Regions from separate parts of the Homo sapiens genome. Here region 1 is linked to region 2. Evidence: promoter capture Hi-C in human tissues and cell types (Jung and others, 2019). All regions are on one chromosome and are shown on one strand. Each heading gives the region's core, a stretch centred on a gene start or on the middle of the fragment in contact. The rest is flanking DNA. Distances are from core to core; before and after follow the strand shown.

Region 1 (5,013 bases), core at 1,837-4,336, 130 kb after region 2:
GTCATTGAGAGTTTTGTTCCTGAACCTTTTGTGTTCCTTTAGGACATACTACCAAATCTGTTAGTGTGTGGCCTCAAGATTTTCAAATTGACTATAGCCTGTCATCATCCGTTGAAAATTTAATGGATCTTTTGAGAAATATAAGCTTTCTAGAAGGTCTATTTCTAAGTTGCTTTTGGGTTGTAGCAATTTCTTGATGACACGCAAATTCATATAGAATGTACACAAATGTCAAGTATTCAGCACAAGGTTAACCTGCTTTAAGGGAATAAAGCATAGCTTTGTTCAGGTTAAAATGCTAAATAATCACTGCCTTTCATAATAAATGCAGGTGAAGTCTACATGACTATTATTAAAGTTAAGGTGGAGGGAGGCTGGCATAAGATGAAGAAAACCATCCTCCTAATATTGAATGAATATTTTGGCTTTGCTGTCTGTCTTTGGCAGTTTTGATACCTGACATTTATTAAGAGTTTTCCAGAAAGACATTTCATTGTTAAACTATGATAATAGCCTTGGTTATCAGGAAAGAACACATGTGAATTCACAGAAATCTTTTCACTGTCATGCTGGAAGAAGTTGTGCCTCCTAGTGTAGCACCAAAGTAAACAACTGCTGGCAATCCATTGATTTTTAGCAATAATTTACTCACATTTAAAATAACCATTTTATGACTAAATTCTGGGACAGTTGAGGCACACCACATTAATTTCTATATAACCAGTGGAAACAATTTAGATTTTGGAGTCAGGCTGATGCTAATATATGTTAGTGGTGGATACCTAGGAAAGCAAATTAACTTCTCTGCAGCTTAGTGTTCTCATCTGTAAAATGGAAAGGGAATGGAGAACCATAGTACACTGGAGGGGCTACTGTTTTTGACTCTCCAGCATGCTTTTGGATCCCTTTTTCTTATTATAATGACATTCCTTCCCCTTGGAGAACACCGCCCCCTCCTCATGTCACTGTGGTCCCCAATTCACTTGAGATGACCATATGATGTGCCTGTGCCAGCCACATGGACCATATTCAGCCAGACATAGTGCCTGGTCCAAGGTGTCGCCATGTGATCCAAGTCCAACCATTCAGAAACCTTCTGTGGAATCAGAGGTGAAAAACTTGCTCTCAGTTATCATGCACTGTAAGAAAACAGGTCTGCATTTTTTTGGTCATTTTCGTCAGCAATTGATGAAGTGAAGGTTTATCTGTAGAAGAAAAGAATGAAGCTTAAAGCAAAGAATCAGAAACAGATATACGAGGTGGGTGAAGAGATGGCGTTTTGTTGGTGAAGGTTGAGATTAAGGTGAGGCAACTGAGTTAAACATGTGCCTTGCTTTCTAAAATTTTGCAGATGCAGGCTTGACACTTGCTTCCTTGTATTTTGCAACCTGGACACATCACTAGCCTCACCCTGGTCCTGGCTCTGTTGATAACTGTTCTCACTTGGATTCCTCCAGAAGTTGATTTTGAGAGAAAGAATTTAGTGCAAACTGTTTATTTGAAGATGATCCCAGGAAATATTTGTGAGACAGGAGGAGTGAGACAGAGAAAGGAAGGCAGCCAATAAAGGGTTTCTGATCAAGCCACTCACCCCGGTGGGCTTCTGGAGCCTACTTCCATGGAGGATGTCAGGAGACAGTGCAGAGTGTGTGTCTGGTGGCTGTAGATGAAAAGCTAATGCGTGGATACGCAGTTCTCATTCGGTGACAGTGGAGGGCTGCCCGTGCAGCATTGCCTGTCCTGCACCTTTGGCTTGCTCTTTGCAGGCCATTGCAGGTGTCATAGTAAGCCTGAGGTGTGTGGATGTGATGAGAGGGACCTGGGTGGACACAGCAGCACTGCCACCTTCTTATTTTCCTATTCCCATGAATTACCCACTGTCCTTACCAGCTATAGAAACTAACATTGTTTTCTGCTCGGTGAGATCATGTTGGGCTTCCAGTATTTGCCACCTAAAGAGTCCTGACTAATCAGAAACTAACAGTGATGGTCCTGGCAACTGGAGACCCATTGTCTACCTTGTCCCACTAATAGCCCAGTATGATGGATGTTATTATCCCCGTTTTACAAATGATGAATCCGCGTCCTGGAGAGGACCCCACTGCCATGCACAGCCTGTTTTATTTTCAAATGTCCCTCCCAGATACAGAAGTGACGTTGAAACTGGCTTCTATCACAGGCACATCTGCTGGAAACAAGTGGGGTCAGGAGGAAAATGTCCATCAGTGTCCAATGACAGACATTTGGTTTTGGATGCAACAGGGCATAGAGGAAAGGGTACAGGCTTCCAGATTGGGGAGGTCTGGCTCTGGGTCAGAGCCTGCTTCTTCCAGTCATGGAAACTTGGACCAATCATGTGGCTCCTGCAACCCTCCCTTTTGTCTTCTGAGAAAAAGTAATGATTATAATGGATAATGGACTTTAGGTTCTTATGTGAGAATAAGGGGGCAAACAATGTTCAGCCCTCAGCATGGTACCTGGCGTGTGGATGGCCTTTTTCTTTCCTTTTTTTTTTTTAATTTGGTAAACTTCAACATTCATTGGTGGAAAAAAAAAGCTCTAAAGAAAGTAGGGCCTAGAAGGAACTCTCTCGACCTGATAAAAAGCATTTACCAAAAACATACAAAAACATTTTATATAATGCTGAAAGATTAAATGCTTTTCCAAAGTAGAAACAAGGCAAAGATATGACTCTTGCCACACCTATACACATCAACAAATGTCCTAGCTATTACAATAAGAAAATAAAATCATACAGATTTACTATGAATAAACAGAACTGTCTCTATTCACAGACTTATGTTTTTTCTACATGGAAAACATCAAAGAAACTACAAAATGTCTACTAGAATGAAAATATGAGTATAGCAAGCTTGAAGAATACAAAGTCAATATAAAAAACTATGTTTATGCTTTGGAATATTTATTTTTATTAAGATGGCAATTCTCTGCAAACTTATATACAGATTTGATTTTGGTTCTGTAATCAAAGTCACAGAAGATTTTTTATAGTTATCTATACTAGATTCTAAAATTTATATGAAAAGTAAAGGATCTAGAAGAGCTAAAACAATTTTGTAAAACAAGATCAAAGTTGTAGAGGTATATTACCCAATATCAAGATGTACTGTGAACCTACAATGATTGAGACAGTATGTTATTGATGAAAGAATAAGCATGAATAATAATGGAATTTGAGAGTCCTACTAATCTATGGCTGGATGGCCTTTTTCAAATGCCTTCCATGTCTTTTTTTTTTTTTTTTTTTTCATGACAGAGTTTCGCTCTTGTTGCCCAGGCTGGAGTGCAATGGCACGATCTTGGCTCACTGCCACCTCTCCCTCCTGGGTTCAAGTGATTCTGCTGCCTCAGCCTCCCAAGTAGCTGAGATTAGAGGCATGTGCCACCAGGCCCGGTTAATTTTGTATTTTTAGTAGAGATGGCGTTTCACCATGTTGGTCAGGCTGGTCTTGAACTCCTGACCTCAGGTGATCCACCAGCCTCAGCCTCCCAAAGTGCTGGGATTACAGGCGTGAACCACCGAGCTTGACTGGTTTCCATGTCTTCTTGAAGCCAGCATGGCTAGGATTTTACTTGGCTTGGTGGGTTCTAGAAGGATCTGGGTATCCACATGGAGGAACATGCCAGGGAGAAGACCTGGGACTGAGGCCCTTCCTGTGTCTGGTGCTCCTAGTGTCATCCTCACCATCTCTCTCACACAGCAGCGCCAGGCATGGCTTCTGGGCTGCTGATCTGCCTTCTCCATGTGACTGAGATTCCCAAGGGGCTGGGACCTGGTCATGCCCATCCGCACTTAGCTTGGTGCCCAACATGTGGTAAAGGCTCAGTAAGTGCTGGCTTAGTGAGTGCTCGGGTGAGAGAGGGAAGAGGACAGCAACTCTTGGTCTAGACAGCAGCCAGGGATGTGCGCAAATCATGAATTAGCTTGCTTGGTTGCTGCCTCCCTCCCACTCGGGATATGTGCCAGTCCCTCCATGCCAGGCCACAAGGTCATGCAGTCTGGCCTGTGCCTGTTTTTCTGACTCTGCTTTCTATCCTCTCTGTCTTCCTGCTCATTCTGTTCCAGCCCTTCTTCAAGTCTCTTGACCACACTGGAGTTATTTCTACCTCAGAACCTTCACACTTGCTCTTCTCTCCACCTCAGTCACCTTTCCCCCAGGTGTTTGCAAGGCTCACTTATAGCATACAGGGCTCTGCTGAGATGTCCACTCTGTGGCGCCTTCCCAGAATGCCCACCCTCTTCGTCTCCACCTCAACCTTCCATATTTCCTTGCCCTTCTCTTCCCCTTTTCTTTATAGCACCTATAAACTACCTGTGATTCTATTATGTGTTTATTCAGATGTCTTCTTGGTTATGGGTCTCATGCACCAGAACATAAGCTCTTTGAGGGCAGCAATGTTTCCTCTTGTTCGCTGTTTTATCCCTAGCTCCTGCTAAGCAGTATACATGCACACACACACTCACATGCACATATATGTACATATACCTACCTATCATGCAGTTTATAGAGACACACATATGTATATGCATATACATTAGGCATACCCACCGATATGGTTTGGCTCTGTGTCCCCACCCAAATCTCATCTCGAATTGTAATCCCTACCTGTCAAGGGAGGGGCCTGGTGGGAGGTGACTGGTTCCTGGGGGCGGTTTCCCCCATGCTGTTCTCATGATAGTGAATTCTCACGAGAGCTGATGGTTTTAAGGTGTGGCACTTCCTTGCTCTCTTTCTCCTCCTGCCTTGTGAAGAAGGTGCCTGCTTTCCCTTCATCTTTCGCCATGATTGTAAGTTTCCTGAGGCCTCCCTGGCCAAACGGAACTGTGAGTCAATTAAACCTCTTTTCTTTATAAATTACCCAGTCTCAGGTAGTATCTTTATAGCAGTGTGAGAACAGACTAATATACCCACTAAACAGTTCACATATATACACAGTGTCTAAGCAATATGTACACGTGCATATACATATACATAGATATGCATATACATA
Region 2 (5,655 bases), core at 3,133-5,632:
TGGCTCTGGCCCATTAAGTCTGGGTAGCTGACATAACTGTAGTTCTCTTGGGTTCTTTCTCTGGTCTCAGTTCCCTTAGCGCTGACGATCTGGCAGGACCGTAGTCACTGGGATTGGGTATTCCAAGGCATTGCAGTCATCCAACAGGAATACCAAATCCTGAAAAAGATGTGCAATGAGCAGGAAAGTTACTGAAGGTGGTCACGGAGTCCATATGCAACTGTAGGGCTCTTGGTTATCCTCAAAGGCCATTCAGTTGTTCCTCTTTCTGTAAAAACTTCCCATGCCTTACTCTCCCCAAAAAGGGCTAGTCACTTCTTGCTTCACATTCCAATAAAATTTCATTTCCATAATTTTCACTTCACATTCCAATAAAATTTCATGTTTTATGGAATTCACACATACATTGATTGACTAGATGGATAGATGACTATGGGTGAGGGAGGGAATAAATGAATGAACCTTAGTTGCTGAGCAGCACCCTGGGTCAGGCATTGGAATGACCTCACTTCAATCAATACCACTTCTCATCACACTGTTATCATAATTGTATCAGCTTCCTATCTTCCCCCACAAACCAAAGGGAGCAGGGAGGAGGAGGAAACTGGGTGTGGGGGAAAATTCATAACACATCTTTCATACAGGATCAAGAAATTATAACTTAATAGCTAATTACTGCAGTTTCCAGAGGAGCTTACTCTGGGCTAGGCATGGTGCTAGCAATTCCATATTTAGTCACTCTACTAGGCTTCTTAGGATCAAGGGAGTTACTGCAGTGCCCACACAAGGTAAGGGTGTAATTATTATTATCCACCTCATGAGATGGGCACTACCATGTCCTCAGTTCAGGACTGAGGAAACTGTGCCTCAGAGGAGTGAAGGGACACTGCTGTGATTTGAATGTGGTCCCAAAAGTTTATGTGTTGGAAACTTAATCCCTCTGCCTTTGTAGGTGAATTAATGTAGGCTTTGACTTAATGAATGGATTAATGAGGGCTCTGCCCTTATGAATGGATTAACGTCACTACCTTGGGAGAGGGTTGCTTATTGCAGGGGTGGCTTTGTTAAAAAAGTGAACTCTCTCTGGCTCTTACCCTCTTGCTGAGTGATGACCTCTGCCATGGTATGATGCAGCAAGAAGGCCCTCACCAGATGCCAGCACCATGCTCTTAGACTACCCCCCAGCCTCCTCCATAAGCTAAACAAACATCTTTTTTTAAAAAATAACTGACCCAGTCTGTGGTGTTATGTTATAGCAGCAGAAACAGACTAAGACAGGCACTCCCACTTGGGAAGCAGGGAGATACAGACCCAAGCTCAGGGCTCTCTGATGCTGAAGTCTGTGCCCTGCAATCACATGCCTCTACTTTCCACATTTTAACTATTGCTGATTTTCTGTCCTTTTACCCTCTCCTACCGGAATCCTCTTATCAGAGCACACCTGAACCTCCTCCTGCAGAGTCTCCTCTACCCTGCCTCACTTGGCTCCTGGCAGAGTCTATCTATGTGGCTGGGGTGTGGTCCTGGGGTGTAGCCCCTGCATCAATGCGCAGCTCATGGAGACAAAGGGCCTTGTCCTGAACCCCATCACCCAACAAGGCAACCATGGTTGAGAAAGGGCTTTGTGAACTGAAAGCATCTGCGAAACATCTCTGCTCCTCTTCCTTGTCACCATCTCCTCCCAACTCTCCTCTTTGAAAAGCTCAGAAAGTCTTGGCTGATAGCAAGTAGAAAATAGACTTTCAATGGCATCCACTTACTCTCCTGCAGAACGAGTTCATGATGGTGTACAGCTTCCGTGCTTTGTCCTTCAAGGAATCTACCTGGGCCACTTTCCAACACGGGGGCGAGGCCACAAAGTCCCGCAGCTTGTCCAGCACACAGTAATTCTGGGAGTGGGCAATGGGGAGGGGGCTTGTGGGAGAAGTCAGTAGCAAGAGGAACAGGGACTGAGCTGCATAAGATCTCTCCCTGACTCTGTGCCACACAGCCAGCAGCAGAGGTTCAGACCTGAGTCCCTCAGCCCAAGACCTCCCTCCCCCAGGGAGAACCCTCTTACGTGTATGTCCAGGTACAGCCTGGGCAGGTATCTCACACATGGCTCCTGTGGAAAGGGATAAGGGGTTCTGGGATGCCCACAGGGGCATACCTGGTCACAAAAGTCTCCCTAGTGGCCCTCTCAACAGCCAGACCAGCCCAGATCCCTGGGGCCCTCCCTGATGCTACGACATGCACAGTACTTTCTTGTGTCATACGTCACACTCCTCCAGAAATGGGCGACTGCGCTTCCGGAATTAGACTTTTAGAATACAACTTTTATATCATTTGCTATGAACCAGGGAGCTGTTTTATATGCATACCCATTCAGAAATATACATACACGTATATACATAAAAGCAGTCCTATAACTGTAATATAGAAATAGTGATATATAATACAGTAATACAAGTATACATACAGAGTATATATGTACATCTATAAAACAGTTCTATAACTATTTAGTTATATAACAGTTGTATAAGTTAGTTATATAGTAACTTATATAATAATATACTTATATAATAACTTATATAAGTATATTAGCTATATAACAGTTGTATAACTGCATGTAATTATAGACATTATATATACTTACATAAGTACGATATATGTAATAATACCTATTGTTCTATAGGCATTCTATAGCTAATATGTAGTTGTATATAGTGTATAATATAGTAATATCGAAGTGCATAAATTTGCATACTTTTATATTTCTATATTGGGCTTCCGTTTTTGCGCAGGGCTGAAGGGCAAAAGCCCTCGTGCTCTGCCCTCTCAGTAATCCCCGTGTGACCATGGGCAAGTGCCTTCCTTCAGTCCTCAGTTGTGAAATTAGAGATTTAGAATGCATAATCTTTCCACTTTCTTCCCGCTCTGTGGTTCAGAGCCTCTGAACTTTTTAAACCTTTTAAAATCAGATTCCTTTAAAAGATGATTGCTGTCTATATTCGATAACAAGAAACTTGTGGGTAAATTGTGGTGAAACTGTACAACAAAATGTTAAAACAAAAATGAACTTATTTGATAGTGTCATTAAAAAGTAAGTTGCAAAACTGCTTGTGCTGTTTGACCCAAATTTTGTTTACACACACACACACACACAACACACACGTATTTGAATACCTATATGTAGACAGAAAGCTGAAATATGATCCTCCACAATGCTACGGCAGCAGCTACCTCTAGGTGGTAGAATTACAAGCAAGATTTTTTTTCTTCTTTGTACTTTATTTTCCAACTGTTCTACAAAGTACAATACTTTTATAATTAGGGAAAAAATACATGTTATTTAACTTTTAAAAAGAAAATACCAAGAAGGTGTTAGCTAGGCTTTTGTAAACCCCAACATCTGAGAAACATTATGTTTTGTTTGAAGCATTTGCAAGTGATTAAAAGACACTTTGAAACTTTACAAAAGCTTTTAATGAAGTTTAATGCATTTTGTTTCGACGGAGAAGCAGGCAGAGGCCTGGGTTCTAGTCCCCAAAAGCCCTCCCGGGTCTTCCCCTCTCTGAGTCCCCAGATCTGCCTCTGAAGATCGTGCTCACATCAGCTGGCATCTGTTGAGTACTTGTTCCTGTAGGCTTGGCTCTGTGAGCCCTGCCTGTGTTCACACCTGCCTTTGATCGTCAAAGCCACTCTAAAGGGAGGGGTGCTACTGTCATCCCATTTTACAGACAAGAAAACTGAAAGGCAGAGGCTGAGAAATTTGCCCGGGTCCCTCAGCAGATGAGGGGCGGAGGCCAGTTCTGTGAGCCACCTCTTAGGGCACACTCCTCACTAGGCTAACAAAAGCAATACACAAGCTTCATTCCTCCGTCCTCCTTAACTCTGATGGGGAGCTGTTTTTCTCCCCATCCTCCCACTCCTTTTTTTTTCTTTTTTCTTTTTTTTTTTTTTTTTTTTTTTTACATTTTACAACAGATCCTTTGATATTTGCTAGTAAGTCACAAAAATTGTGTTGTCTTTACTTTTTCTTGTGTTTTGAAGAAAGCAAACCATTGGTATCATATTTAAAAGGAGATGAATAAAACACAAATACTCCTGAGATTTACATTTACTAGAAAAGAAAAATATCCTTTTCTCTCTCTCTCTCTTTTTTTTTTCGTGTAAAGGCAAGGGTTTAAGAACTGGGTCTGCCATGCACCCCTGTCCTGAGCGGGCGGGGGACTCACCGAGGGCTCCGAGACCTGCAGGAGGTTGAAGTCGCGGGTGATCTCCTGGCTCAGGGCCCGCATGCGGGAGTAGCAGGTCGGGGGAGTGGGCCGCGCGGCGGGGGCTCCCGCCAGGAGCAGCAGCAGCACGGGCAGAGGCCCAGGCGTCCTCATGGTGCCAGGCGCTGGTGCAGCCTCGCCGACCGCCCCTTTATGCAGGCTGGGGGTGGTCCAGGGCGGCTCCACGCCTCCACTTCCTGTGGGGCCAGCGCAGGCTGCGGTCCATCCAGGGTGGCAGAGAGGAAGCCAGCACGCCCACCGGGCAGGGTCGGGACAGGAATCCTCTCAGACACGAAAGCCCCAGGTTAAGAGGAGGGGCTGCCTGGAGGAGGGGGTGACAGAGGGTGGCTTTGCCTCCCCCACACTTTCAGCAAGAAATTTCTTTCTGCACAGGGACTTTTCCTGAAAAGGCAGGAACAGCAGATGGAGAGGGGTGGGGGATAAGAGGAGGACAGAGATGGAAGGAGGGGAGGGTCAGAGGAGAGGAGTGGGCAGTCAGGCCTGGGTTTGGATGGCACGGTTTGTCAAAATGGATATAGTGCCAGGAGGGAAAGGGACTAGCAGGGGATGACTGAGCATCCCTCCCTCCAGGCAGCCCGCAGTGGAGCAGGGATGCAGAGCTGCGGTCAGGCCACCGGTGTCCTCGTCCATCAATCGCTAACCAGGTAGGTGAGCCTTGGGCCAGGGCCCCCAGCCTCTCAGAAGCCGTGTGTGTCTCTCGGTCCGGAGGATGGGCTCACTGAGCGGCCGTATGTGTGGGGAGTGTGAGTACCCCCACCCTCTTCTACCTCAAGCTCCCAGCACAGGCCCCGAGGGAGAGCAGACCCTCAGGAAGGGTTAGTTTTCAAGAAGTGCATCTCCCTCAGGGCTAACTTCCCAAGACAGTGGCAGGTAAAGGTCTAGGCTCTCCACTTAGACGCCGTGGGTGCAAAGCAGGGTCACCGCCTTCTGGCTTTGACCTTGGGCAAGTTTCTTCAGTGTTTCCTCCATCTCCTTATCTGTGAGATGAGGCTGGTGAGAGTGGCTCACTCAAAAGGCCATAGTGAGGAATCAACAGGATATAGCATGACTGAGCAAGCCTCATGCCAGGCCCATTGTGTGTTTCCAAGTGATCGGAGCTAATAGCACTGTCTCTGTTAAATCCAGCAATTGTCTCTGTGAGGTAGGTGCCACAGAAAAGAGTCCCATTTTCCAGGTGGGAAAACTGAGGCTCAAGAGTTCCAGCAACTTGCTGGAGGTCACAAAGCTGGAGGCACATGGGTTGGGATGAGACTTCAGGCCCTGTCCTCCTGCCATTCTTCCATCCCACAGGGCAGGATGGGTGAGGAGCAGGACTCTTGCAGGCAGAGATGAGTTGGGGTCCTCAGGCTGCCCAAGATCAGGCAACAAGCAAGAAGGA

What was found. The method cuts DNA at HindIII sites, captures the fragments that hold promoters and counts their contacts. A contact is called where the count stands out against the background at its distance.
Region 1: a fragment that was not itself captured here is called in contact with the fragment with the promoter of CYTL1 in region 2 in 1 of the 25 tissues and cell types used here (mesendoderm cells).

What each region holds. Positions count from the first base shown.
Region 1 is chr4:5,150,963-5,155,975 of GRCh38, forward strand. The region is part of intron 2 of STK32B (serine/threonine kinase 32B); the gene reads left to right. Among named protein-coding and RNA genes, the nearest start is that of STK32B, 100 kb to the left of the region's middle. RefSeq lists an enhancer at 3,192-3,693. The HindIII fragment of the contact is 4,803 bases long and covers 686-5,013 here.
Region 2 is chr4:5,015,076-5,020,730 of GRCh38, forward strand. CYTL1 (cytokine like 1) reads right to left here and starts at 4,383. Exons shown (of 4, transcript NM_018659.3): 1 at 4,218-4,383; 2 at 2,060-2,104; 3 at 1,761-1,889; 4 at 1-159. The coding sequence starts at 4,370. The coding sequence ends at 76. It also overlaps a transcript of STK32B not described here. The HindIII fragment of the contact is 2,782 bases long and covers 3,655-5,655 here.